Linked DNA regions of Homo sapiens: regions 1, 2 and 3 are each linked to region 4. The links are contacts of gene promoters, found by promoter capture Hi-C in human tissues and cell types (Jung and others, 2019). All regions are on one chromosome and are shown on one strand. Each heading gives the region's core, a stretch centred on a gene start or on the middle of the fragment in contact. The rest is flanking DNA. Distances are from core to core; before and after follow the strand shown.

Evidence for each region. The method cuts DNA at HindIII sites, captures the fragments that hold promoters and counts their contacts. A contact is called where the count stands out against the background at its distance.
Region 1: a fragment that was not itself captured here is called in contact with the fragment with the promoter of SLC28A3 in region 4 in 1 of the 25 tissues and cell types used here (lymphoblastoid cells).
Region 2: a contact is called between a fragment that was not itself captured here and the fragment with the promoter of SLC28A3 in region 4, in 1 of the 25 tissues and cell types used here (dorsolateral prefrontal cortex).
Region 3: a fragment that was not itself captured here is called in contact with the fragment with the promoter of SLC28A3 in region 4 in 1 of the 25 tissues and cell types used here (dorsolateral prefrontal cortex).

The regions. Positions count from the first base shown.
Region 1 is chr9:85,421,959-85,424,963 of GRCh38, forward strand. The region is part of intron 2 of LOC105376121 (a long non-coding RNA gene); the gene reads right to left. Among named protein-coding and RNA genes, the nearest start is that of AGTPBP1, 320 kb to the right of the region's middle. The HindIII fragment of the contact is 6,241 bases long and covers 1-3,005 here.
Region 2 is chr9:85,513,315-85,516,275 of GRCh38, forward strand. No RefSeq gene overlaps it. Among named protein-coding and RNA genes, the nearest start is that of AGTPBP1, 230 kb to the right of the region's middle. The HindIII fragment of the contact is 3,134 bases long and covers 1-2,952 here.
Region 3 is chr9:85,480,419-85,483,470 of GRCh38, forward strand. No RefSeq gene overlaps it. Among named protein-coding and RNA genes, the nearest start is that of AGTPBP1, 260 kb to the right of the region's middle. The HindIII fragment of the contact is 7,526 bases long and covers 1-3,052 here.
Region 4 is chr9:84,339,202-84,342,077 of GRCh38, forward strand. SLC28A3 (solute carrier family 28 member 3) reads right to left here and starts at 1,557. Exons shown (of 18, transcript NM_001199633.2): 1 at 1,373-1,557. The coding sequence starts at 1,432. The HindIII fragment of the contact is 14,043 bases long and covers 1-2,876 here.

The sequences.
Region 1 (3,005 bases), core at 59-2,558, 1.1 Mb after region 4:
AGGGAAGTTTGGTGGCAAACTCATCTTGAAGTTGGCTGGGATAAAATTTGAGATGGTTCTCCTGGGCACCAATGTGGAAGTTAAAAAAACAAATTTCCTGAGAAGAGATGCTAACAGCAACTTCATGGGGGAGGTGGTAGGTGGGTATTGGGGGTCACCTCTCAAGGACTCCCTAAACCACCTCAGATTTCAGAAGTTATGAACTGAAGGGACAGGAAAATACAGTAGCTATTGTTAATTTAAAAACTGACAAAATAAAACTAACATGTCTTCAGGTGGGGAAATCTGGAAATGGGAAGAGAAAATGTTACAGAAAGAAAAAGAAAACAGCCCTAGTGTAAAATTTTTAAAATCTTAACCCTAGGGTTTTAGAACCTAAGAGTTCTATTAATAAGGCACAAAAGTTCCTAATGTGCTCTAAATCACATCAAAATTGCTTCTACACATGTGGATTTTAAGATCATAAGGAATATTTGGAGGAAATATTAATAAATAAAATTCTCTTTTTTGCTACTGGGGTAATGTTTAGAAAATTACCCATATGAGGCAGACTGATACTAAAAATGACCTCAATTCTTCACCACTCCCCACACCCACATTCTTTATCATGTGACTTTGCTGCTCCTCCTATCAAGAGATGGAGTCTATTTCCCCACCCTGAGATCTGGGCTGGGATCTCTGGCCAATACAATGTGGCAGAATGAAGGTGTGTCAAATCCAAGTCTGACCTCAGAGATCTTGCTCATTTCTGCTCTTTTTTGGAATGCTACCTCCACTGTGTTAACAAGGCTGGGCTAGCCTGGGGAAAGAGGAGAGAGCTCAGAGACAAGAGCTCATTTGCCTCAGCCAAGGCCATCCTAGATCAACCTACAGCCAACAACCTCTAAACATGTGAGAAAAGTCAGCCAAGATCAGCCAAGCTGCCTGCCTGACCCACAGCTAGCCTCAGATGCATGAAGGAGACCATCCAGGAGCTGAAGAACCCAGAGACTTGGGCGCAATAAGAAACGCTTTTTGTTTTAAGCCAGGGTAATCAAACTTTTTCTATCAAGGGCCAAATAGTAAATATTTTAGACTTACTAAATATTTGGTATGGTCTCTGTTGCATATCTTATTTTGTTTTCCAAACGCTTTAAACATGTAAAACCATTCTCAGCTTGTGGGTCCTACAGAAACATACTGCAGGCCACAGTTTGCCACTCTCTGCTTAAGCCATTGAGCTCTGAGATACTTTGTTACACAGCAGAAGCTAACTCATAGACCACATGGTTTTTATTTGCCCTTGTATCTTGTTTTCATGCAAAGAGAAAACTATACAATGAGGGTCATTTCCTCCAGGAGGGAAGGTTGACTGCTACCAGAAACAAAGAGGTCATTGACCAATGTTGCACCTCAAAGCCGTTTTCCTGGTTCCTTTAATAAAATAATCACCTGAACGCCAGTCTTTGGGATGAAAAAATGATTTCTAAATTTCAGGGACTGATGGCCAAGATCCCGGGGGACTCCAGAGGAAGACACTAGCATATAATCCCAAAATGTTAAATGGGACCAGTCTTTCTTCAGTGGAAATGATTTCCAGAACAAACTGGGGCTGTCATCCTGCAGCAGAGACCAGCCAGGATCCAAGGACAGAGTGAGTCAGCCCCTTCCTCTACAATCATGAAGTCATAGAAACCCAGCCCTCTAAACCTCTAGCTCTCATTTTGTGGAGATATAAAGAAAAGGGGGAGGAAATAAGAAAGACTGAGCATGTATCTTAGTCATGCCTGTAGAGAATGAATAGACTATTTAAATTATTGGATTGGGCTGAGTTTATTGGACTGGACTAAATTTATTTTTTCCTTGCTACTCAGTGGGTTTGGAGACTTAAAAGGATGATAGATCACTTGTAGGAAATGATAGGACTGTTATGGCTTCAATGTTGTCCCCCAAGAATATATGCCACCCACCTTATTTGGAAATAAGGTCTTTGCAGATGTAATGGCGCTAAGATGAGTCATTAGGGTGAGCCATTAGGGTCATTATGGCTGTGTTACAAAAAGAGAAGAAGAAAATGACACCCAGGAGAAGAACGCCATGTGTCAACGGAGGCAGAGATTAGAGAAATGCGGCCATGAACCAAGGAAGGCCAAGATTGCGGGCAACCCCAGAAGCTAAGAGAAAAGCATGAGGCAGACTCTTTCCCAGTGCCTTCAAGAGAGCATGGTCCCACCGACACCTTGATTTCCAACTTTCGGCCTCCACAACTGCAACAGAACGAATATCTGTTGTTCTAGGCCACCCAGTTTGCCGGCATTTATTACAGCAGTGCTAGGAAACCAGCACAAAGTTTTTTGTTTGTTTGTTTGCTTGCTTTTTTGACACAGTGTCTCGCTCTGTCACCCAGGCTGGAGTGCAGTGGCGCGATCTCGGCTCACTGCAAGCTCCGCCTTCTGGGTTCACGCCATTCTCCTGCCTCAGCCTCCCGAGTAGCTGGGACTACAGGCACTTACCACCACGCCCAGCTAATTTTTTTGTATTTTTAGTAGAGACGGGGTTTCACCGTGTTAGCCAGGATGGTCTCCATCTCCTGACCTCGTGATCCACCCGCCTCGGCCTCCCAAAGTGTTGGGATTACAGGCGTGAGCCACCGCGCCCAGCCAAGTCTATTTCTTTAAAAGAGATTATTTACATCTTTTAATTAACACCAATGATTCTTTCAACACTGCTTTTCTGAAGTTCCACTTCTGAAATTCAAAGTAGTCCTTGAGGGTCCCGGAACGCTGGCTGGCAGAGATGGAGGCATTACTCTCCCCACAGATTGGTTCACGGTGAACTTAGAGACCTCCGGGGAGGGTATATTCCAGTGGCTCCGAAGACCTCTGGTTGGTTTTGGATTTGGTTTAGAAGAGTTTAGAAGGGTTTAGAAGGGAGCAGCTGATAAAAGGAGCATTTTTAGAAACGGCCTGCCTTTTCGGGGTCCTAACTTTGGTGTGCACTGAGGTCATCTGGAACAAGTGTTGGGA
Region 2 (2,961 bases), core at 136-2,635, 1.2 Mb after region 4:
TTCCCCTTTCTATTCCATTGTCAAGGTAATAAAGAATAAGAAGGCATACTTGTAAATTGAACTTAGATTTACTTATTTTGAAATACAAAAATTGGCAGGACAATCCTATATTCCTGCTTTCTTTCTTACCTCAAACCAAAATCAGCCTTCATCTACAGAGCCAAATTTATATATGCCCCATAAACATATCTGTGTGCACCTGGTTTGCATAAGGAGGCAATGAAATAAAAATGTTTAAATACTGGGACTCAGTAGCTAACCACCAGGTTCAAGCCTTTGCTTTGCCATAAACACTGTGTAAGCTTCAGAGGCATGTGACCTGCATAGGTCTCAGTTTTCCCATCTGCAACAATAAGGGATTTGGACTCGATTCTCTTATGTCTGGCTGTATTATGGGATATATGATATGAGAAAAGGGTTGAGACAGAAGGATCTAAAGGATCTTTTTAGTTGGAGTCAATTCGCCATTGGGGAGTCAAAGCTGGCAGGCTCCCAGACATCAGAAACCAATTTTTAATCTGATTTATTTGTATGTCAGTTCTCCTCCTTACTGCTCTACCCACTAACCATGTATAATTCCCTACAAATTCACTCTCAGTCATCCTTCCAAAGAAAAGAAAGTTTTAAATAATCTGAAAAAAAGTCGCTGATTATCTGAACTAATTCATCCGTGGGCATCAGGTTTCTTTGCAACATACTCCAAGAATTGGGACTCTAAGGGGTAGTCATCTGTCTGCCATGGAGCCAATCTTACATGTGGCTAATGAATACATGTATGTGCATTTGGTTTCCATAAGGAAGTAGCAAAATAAATATTATTCCCACGGCATCCTAAAAGTCATTTATGGAAACTTCCAGAAACCACTGGAGTAGGCAGGGTTAGGCCCCAGTCACCAATCAGTAGGTCCAGGCCAAGAGTACCACTTACTCTTCAGAGCAGTATCAGTCCACAGACTGCCGCCCTGCCCAGTCATCCTTCCAGCAGGTCATGGCGGCAGGAGAGCCTTGCCAGAGTGGTGAGCAGCCTCATGGCCTTCCAGGGCTTCTGCTGCCCTCCCCGCTGTATGGCTCATCCTTCCTGCTGTATGGGACAGGCTGGAACCTGAACGCCAGCCTTAGGACTCAAGGCCCCACCCCCTCTAGTCACTGTTTCCAAGACTGCAGCTGCCTCCCTGCTGAGAGGCCAAGGCTAAAACTCCATGACCCTCTCTCCTCTCGGGCCTCCCTGCAGCCCCTGCCTGCTCCCATCAGCCTCCCACACTGCTCAGCGGTGAGCTCTGAATTACGTAAATGACCTGGTCACCCTGTTTAAAAATTCCTACGGGTCACTTGAAATTCAGTCTACAGCACCATGGCATTCAAAGACTCAGCCAGAGCTTCCCAGCATCATTTCTATGCCATAGATGCCTTCCCTGCCACACACACACACACAAACACACACACATATGCATACAACACACACAGTTATAAACATACACTCATACCGCATAAACACACGCAACACACAAACACAAAACCCACACATTAACATACTAAGTCACAAACTCATACACAATCACACACCCACTCATAAATACATATGACACAAACACGCAGTCACAAACTCATACACAAACATATATTCTTACACATATGCACAAAACACACAATCACAACACACACATAAACACAGATGTGAAAGAGACATTTGGCAAATGAACTTGAACCTGAACTTGAACCCAAGAAGAGGGGTTCCAGCCATCTCACCAGCATATAGAGCCTTTGAATTAACACACAAGTTGGGAAGAAACCAAGAACTAACAATATCCCTTGAGCCTCTGGATCAAGCCACACCTGAAGCTAGACTTACCCCATGGGCATTTCATTATGTAAGCCAATAAACTCCCTTCTTTATTGTGGTTCTTTTATTGAGGTTTAGCCAAGCTGGGTTTTCATCACTTGCCAACTAAAGATCCAGACTGAATAGACACCCAGGAATCAAGCACCTGACATTCGGAAACAACCTCAATTAGTCATACTCTGCCTCCAGGGCTCAGTTGAGTTTCTTTAAAAACTAAGGCTCGGGCCAGGCGCCGTGGCTCATGCCTGTAATCCCAGTACTTTGGGAGCCTGAGGCAGGCAGATCAAGAGGTCAGGAGTTCAATACCAGCCTGGCCAACATGGTGAAACCCTGTCTGTACTAAAAATACAAAAAATTAGCCAGGCATGGTGGCATGTGCCTGTAGTCCCAGCTACTTAGGAGGCTGAGGCAAGAGAACGGCTTGAACCCAGCAGGCGGAGGTTGCAGTGAGCTGATACAGTGCCACTGCACTCCAGCCTGACGACAGAGCGAGACTCTGTCTCAAAAAAACAAAACAAAACAAAAAAACCAGAACTGGATTTCACTTTTTAAGAAAAGGCATTTAGGCCAGGTAAGATGGCTCACACCTGTAATCCCAACACTTTGGGAGGCAGAGGCGAGTGGATCACCTGAGGTCAGGAGTTCGAGACCAGCCTGGCCAACATGGTGAAACCCTGTCTCTGCTAAAAATACAAAATTAGCTGGGTGTGGTGGCAGGCACCTGTAATCCCAGCTACTTCGGAGGCTGAGGCAGGAGAATCGCTTGAACCCAGGAGGCAAAGGTTGCAGTGAGCCGAGATCACACCATTGCACTCCAGCCTGGGCAACAAGAGTGAAACTCCATCTCAAAAAAAAAAAAAGAAAAAAAAGAAAAAAAATCATTGAACTATACACTTGAAATGGATGAAGTATATGATATGTAGAATATACCTGAATAAAGCCTCTTTCAGTTCTACAATTCACAAGCCTGTATTTTAAGACCGTTTTCTTTTGGCTTGACTGTCTCCTGCTTTAGTAAGCCAATCAGGTGAACCACATACATCTTCATCTGATGATTGCTGAAGGTTTTACAATAGAGATGCAGAAGCTTCAAACGCAGAGCTGAAACTGTAAATCCCACG
Region 3 (3,052 bases), core at 260-2,759, 1.1 Mb after region 4:
GAACCTGCCAAAGCCTCCCCCATTGCTCCCATAGTCAAAGACAAAGTCCCTACAACGCCCTGCAAGGCCCTATCCCACCTGGGCTGCCTGGCTCGCCTCATCTCCTACTTCTCTCGCCTCACTTCTCTGTGCCCCTCGTGGGCCTCCTCACTGTGCCTTGATGGGCACCGCCCTCACATCAGGGCCTCTGCACTGGCTGCCCTTTCTGTCCCAACTGCGCTTCCTCCCAATGTTCCCAAGGCTTGCTCTGTCTCCTCTGAATGTTGCTCAGATTCACCTTCATAACGAGGCTCTCTCAGACCCCCACATTAGAACTCCACCTTCACAGCCCTCCTAGTCCATATTGACTGCTTGCTCTATTTTCCTATCGCATCAATCTATATTCTAACATAACAATTGTCTTTTTTTCTTTTTCCTCCTTTCTCCCTTCCTTCCACAAATAACTGAGATCAGAAGGAAGGAAAGAATGGAATGAGGGAGAAAGGGGAAAATGGGGCAGGACAGAGATGTCAACACATTTTGGAGTAGAAAGTAGACAAAAGAATGAAGAATGAGGAGCTATGCAGTCGAAGTGCCTGCAGAATGCTGTAGTGAAAAGGACTGAGCCAGTTCACTTCATCAGCCCCCAGAAAGGCTCAGAAGTTGGTGCTTCAAGTACTTCTGAGGCATTCACTGTTTACAGAATAGTTCAATCACTCGATCACCTCCTGTTCCCAACAGTCCAGTGACAACACCACCCTGCAGCCCTTCCATGCTGCATAATACAGGAGGCTTCTCTCTGGAAATAAAATGAATGAGAGTGACCACAAGCTGAGGGACATAGGCAGAGAAAGGGGCAGGAGTGAGTGGGCTTGCTCCCTCCACCATCATCCCTTTCCCCACAGCAGCCACGGGCATGTGGACTCCTCCACCTTCCAGGGATTGGAGGCTTCTTCCTTGGAAAAACTTCCACATGGAAGGGATTCACCAAATAATCAGAAAAACAATGGATGTTTACATGATCCATGCTGAGGGAAACAATCTTAGAATAATTTCAAATTCTCAAGGATGAGAGGATTTTAAATGCTATTAAAGCTTGGGGGAGTGTGTAGTGAGTGTCACATATCTCAGACGTCTTAATAGAAAAACAGTAAACTAGACAAGGGAGCAATGCCTAAAGAATCCTGAGGGAAAATTATCTTCAACCTATATTTGAAACAAGCCAATATTTATCAAGTATGAAAGTAGAATAAGAAAATCCAAGCATACAATAACTCAAAACTTACCTCCCATGTGTCCTTTCTCAGGAAACTCTTGAAGGATAACGGGAAGTTCCTGGATTATTAATACAAATTGAGTGGCTAGGGCAACAGCGGGGCACTATGGATAGATCAAGCTAGAAAACAAATGGGAGGCTCCTTAGGAAGGGGGAGTTGGAACCGATGGGTTACCTGCTGCCCTGCGTTGTGTGGAAGTGCTACTGATAGGCACTCTACAGCAATGGTTGAGTGTTTGGGGAAGAATTTTAAACTGTTGTGTAAAAGCAAAAGTTTACACAAAACTTTTGTTTCTGTGTAAACTTTTCAAAAAATAGATGTACAAGAAAGGGGACATAACCTCAGTACACTAGTTGGCTCAGCAGTGAAAAACAGTTCAATAATCACTTAGATGCAAACGTAGAATACAAGTTCAACCTAAAACTGTTACGATTTTAGGATAGGGGAAGGATACAGGAAGGAGCAGGAACTCACCATGGCAGAGACAATGGTATGTGTTCACCAAACCCAGTTTTCTTCCTCACTGGACACACAGCTAAATGTCCAGATCCTCAGCAAATAGCTTGGCATCTTGTGGTTGAGTTCTGAACAAGGGAAAGTGGACAGAAGTGATGATGTGCCACCCCTTGGCCATAAAATCTCTCACATTTAATCTTCTGTTCGCTCTTCCTGTTCCAGAGAAAACTTGGAGGTCACGTGTTGAAGATGGTGGCATCAAAGGATGGCAAGAGGCTGAGTCTCTGAATGTGTGGAGAACAACTTTGTACCCTCCCTCAATGACCTACACTGAGAGAGAAAGAAAACTTTATTGTGATAAGCTGCCATTATGGGAAGGTTGTTCACTATAGCAGCTAGCATGACTTATCCTAATATACTCAACCACTTATAATAGGGAGACAATGAAAAATCTGAAATTGACAAATCAAGAAATAGATGTTGAAGCAAATCATTTAGAAATATGTATCCATGTGTGTGTGTATATATGTATGTATAGACACACACACACATACACACATATGAAACACGTAAAAGAGTTCAAAGTGGCGCATTGGAGAAGTGGAACCGGGAGAATAGAGTGGGATGAGGTAGTTGACTGCTTAAATGTATGAATGAATAAACTTTGGAAGGTCATCCTTACTCACACTAACGAATGTTTTTCTTTATAAGCCTAATGGCAACACTTAACTTTCAATTATATGTTGCATAATTTAAATAAAAATATAAATTATTGATTTAAAAGAGACTTATAGGCTTCTAGGAAATGCAAATATGAGCATAGATAATTACAGAACACATAATATAAATACCCAAAGTGAAGCATGATGTTGTATTATGAGTGCACCACAAAAGAAGTTCTTCAAACAGATCAAACACATTTGAGTACAATAAAAGTTGCATTGAATTTGCTTCCATTGTTCCAAGGTAGATTTTGGGTATGACGGCTCATAAAGAATAGACATCACAGGAACGTTGTCTTTCCTTCCTTTCTTCCTTGCTTTGACTTTTTTTCATTTCTTTTCTTTCTGTTTTTTTTTTCTTTTTTTTTTTTTTGAGGGATATAAGAGGAAGATGTTTTAAATAGTAAATGGAAGAAGGCCAAAAATCAGAGCTCTGCTAGCACATCCTCTGCCTTTGTGCAAATTTTTTTAAAGCACCCTTCCTCGAGATACTTTCATCCATTGGAAAATGTCTTTAATATATTTATCTTGTTAGACTAAGACCCTTTGCTGACATCTGGTGGATATTCAAGTGCAAATATTCATACCTGCAAGGTGACTTGCCCTCTTTAGATGTGT
Region 4 (2,876 bases), core at 307-2,806:
TTTTCCGTTTCTTTTATGTGAGGCTCTCATACATGTGAGATTTTATTTTATTATTATTATTTTTTTGAGACTGAGTCTCCCTCTGTCAACCAGGCTGGAGTACAGAGGCACGATCTTGGCTCACTGCAGCCTCTGCCTCCCAGATTCAAGTGATTCTCCTGCCTCGGCCTCCCGAGTAGCTGGGACTACAGGCATGTACCACCATGCCCGGCTGATTTTTGTATTTTTAGTAGAGATGGGGTTTCACTATGTTGGCCAGGCTGGTCTCAAATTCCTGACCTCAAATGATCAGCCCGCCTCAGCCTCCCAAAGTGCTAGGATTACAGGCATGAGGCACCACTGCCAGCCACATGTGAGATTTTAAATATGAATAAAATTTGCGTGCCTTTTCTCCTGCTAATCTGTTTTATGTTGGTTTAATTTGCAGGCCTCAGGCACTCAACCTAAGAGGGTAGATGAAGTTGTTTCCTCTCCTACACTTGTGACCTATAAGTGGTAACCCGATGCCTACTCATGGAGATGGGCATCACTGTGACCATGGGACAGATGATCAAACTTGGGCTCTGGGAAGTTACAGGAATTTGTGGGTGCTGGAGTCTGAACTCCTGTCAAAGCCCTTTTACCTCCCTCTTTCCTTTCTTGGCTAGCACCTCAAAGTTTTGTTTTGCCCATCTAGCAGACCGTAAAGTCCAAGGGATTGTTGACACTTGCCGGTGCAGGCTTCCCATCTTCTCCAGAGCGCCCATGCTGAGTGTCAGCTAAGGAAAGGAAGCACACCTAAAAACAGCCCTGGAAATCCCCATCCCAGACCCAGTCAAAATAGCCTGGTGTTTCTGACAGGTCTCCTTCTATGTCTCTGCGGGCACCCAGCCTCGGGCTGAGCAGCATTAATCACTCAGTGAGTTTTGGTTGATGAAGTGAGACTGATTTGCGTAATCCAGCTGCTCTGGGGCAGGTACCGGGGCCATCTGACAGGGGCTCCAGGACTTGGCTTGAGTAAAAGGAACCCTGAGACACTACCCCAGCCAGGATCTAAATTCCCCCATTTTTCCCTTCTCACCAGTTCTTTGGAAAAGTGCCTGAAGATAAATAATGGACCCCTGCTGTGAGCCAGAAGGGAAAAAAGGCAAGAGAAGAAGGCTGTCTTGTTTCTAAGTGACCATAGGGATCACAACACATCGATTAAAAGAGACTTTTCAGGTTTGTCAACCCAGAAGAGCCCAAGAAGAAAAAATAATGGGCTTAAAGTGTGCCGTTAAAAATCGTATTGTCCTGATAATCTCCCTGCTTAGGTAAGAAACTTGCCAAGGGGCTAAGGAAAGGGCAGCTTTTCCACTGAAGGCCTTTAACATAAGAGGAAAGCTCTGCTCACCTGGAAGCCCACGTTGCTGTAGCCCTCAGCTCTGGGGGCTGCTGTACTCCTCAGCTCCATGCTCTTTTTGCTGCTGGCTGGCTCTGGTCTGGAGGTCCTTTGTACCTGGGAAAAAGCACCAGTCTCTGCTGATGTCAGAAAGCCACCTGCTGTTACAGGGACCTGGGCACAGCTTGCTTCAGTTTGGAAACTTCTGCAATAATCTCCTGAATGACTAGGGCTGACACCTGGTTGGGGTGGGGCAGAGAGGCGGGCGGGTTGGCGGGGTGGAGGCATCTAGTGCTGGCCCGCCCACCTTATTAATCTTTTCCTTTATCCCCATTTTTGGCATCCTATTTGCACTCCTGGGGAGAAAACTCTTGTGGTGCACAAAACAGAAAAGGACACTTTCTTTTTCTTTCTTTCTTTCTTTTTTTTTTTGAGATGGAGTCTCAAAAAAAAAAAGGCTGGAGTGCAGTGACGCAATCTCGGTTCACTGCAACCTCTGCCTCCCAGGTTCAAGCAATTCTCCTGCCTCAGCCTCTCAAGTAGCTGGGATTACAGGTGCATGCCACCACACCTGGCTGACTTTATTTTTAGTAGAGACGGGGTTTCACCATGTTGGCCAGGCTGTTCTTGAACTCCTGACCTCAAGTGATCCACCTGCCTTGGCCTCCTAAATTGCTGGGATTACAGGCATGAGCCACCGTGCCCAGCCAGAAAAGGACACGTTCTCTATAGTGCTTAGTGAAATCCTCTGTTTTCCTGTGGGTGGTGTTAAAGACTAGGAGTGGTGGTGGGGTGGAGGGTGAGTGAACACAGGATATAAGGTCATGCCGCCCTCAGTGATCACCTACTGTATACCAGGGATGGATAGATGGATAGATACATAGACAGATAGGTAGGTAGGTAAGGGTCTTGGCTCTTCTTCCGAACAACTCAAAATTCTATACTGAAGTACAGAAAAGTTAACAATTTGTTTAGTGTCATTTAGCTAATAAAGGGATAATGAGAATTCAAATTCAAGTTTGGTTAATTCCAAAACCTTTTATTACATCCCTGCTTCAGACTGGGCTGCTTTCAAAAATCCAGCTTACAGAAATGCCGATATGTGACAAGTAAATGAAAGGTGACCAGCTATTCAATTATCAAAAGTGAATAGAAGTGCTTTGTTTTCATAAAGCAATTCACTTTGCTTTATGAAAATATTAGCTGTAGAATTCTTTTAAAATAGGGATTTTCCCCCCTAGTACAATTTAAAATACTGCAAAACTGTGGACAAAAGAATGGAAAAGGCCTGGTGCGGTGGCTCACGCCTGTAATCCCAGCACTTTGGGAGCCCAAGGCGGGTGGATCACTTTAGGCCAGGAGTTCAAGACCAGCCTGGCCAACATGGCGAAACTCCATCTCTACTAAAAATACAAAAATTAGCCAGGAGTGATAACGTGCGCCTGTAGTCCCAGCTACTCGGGAGGCTGAGGCGGGAGAATCGCTTGAACCCAGGAGACACAGATTGCAGTGAGCC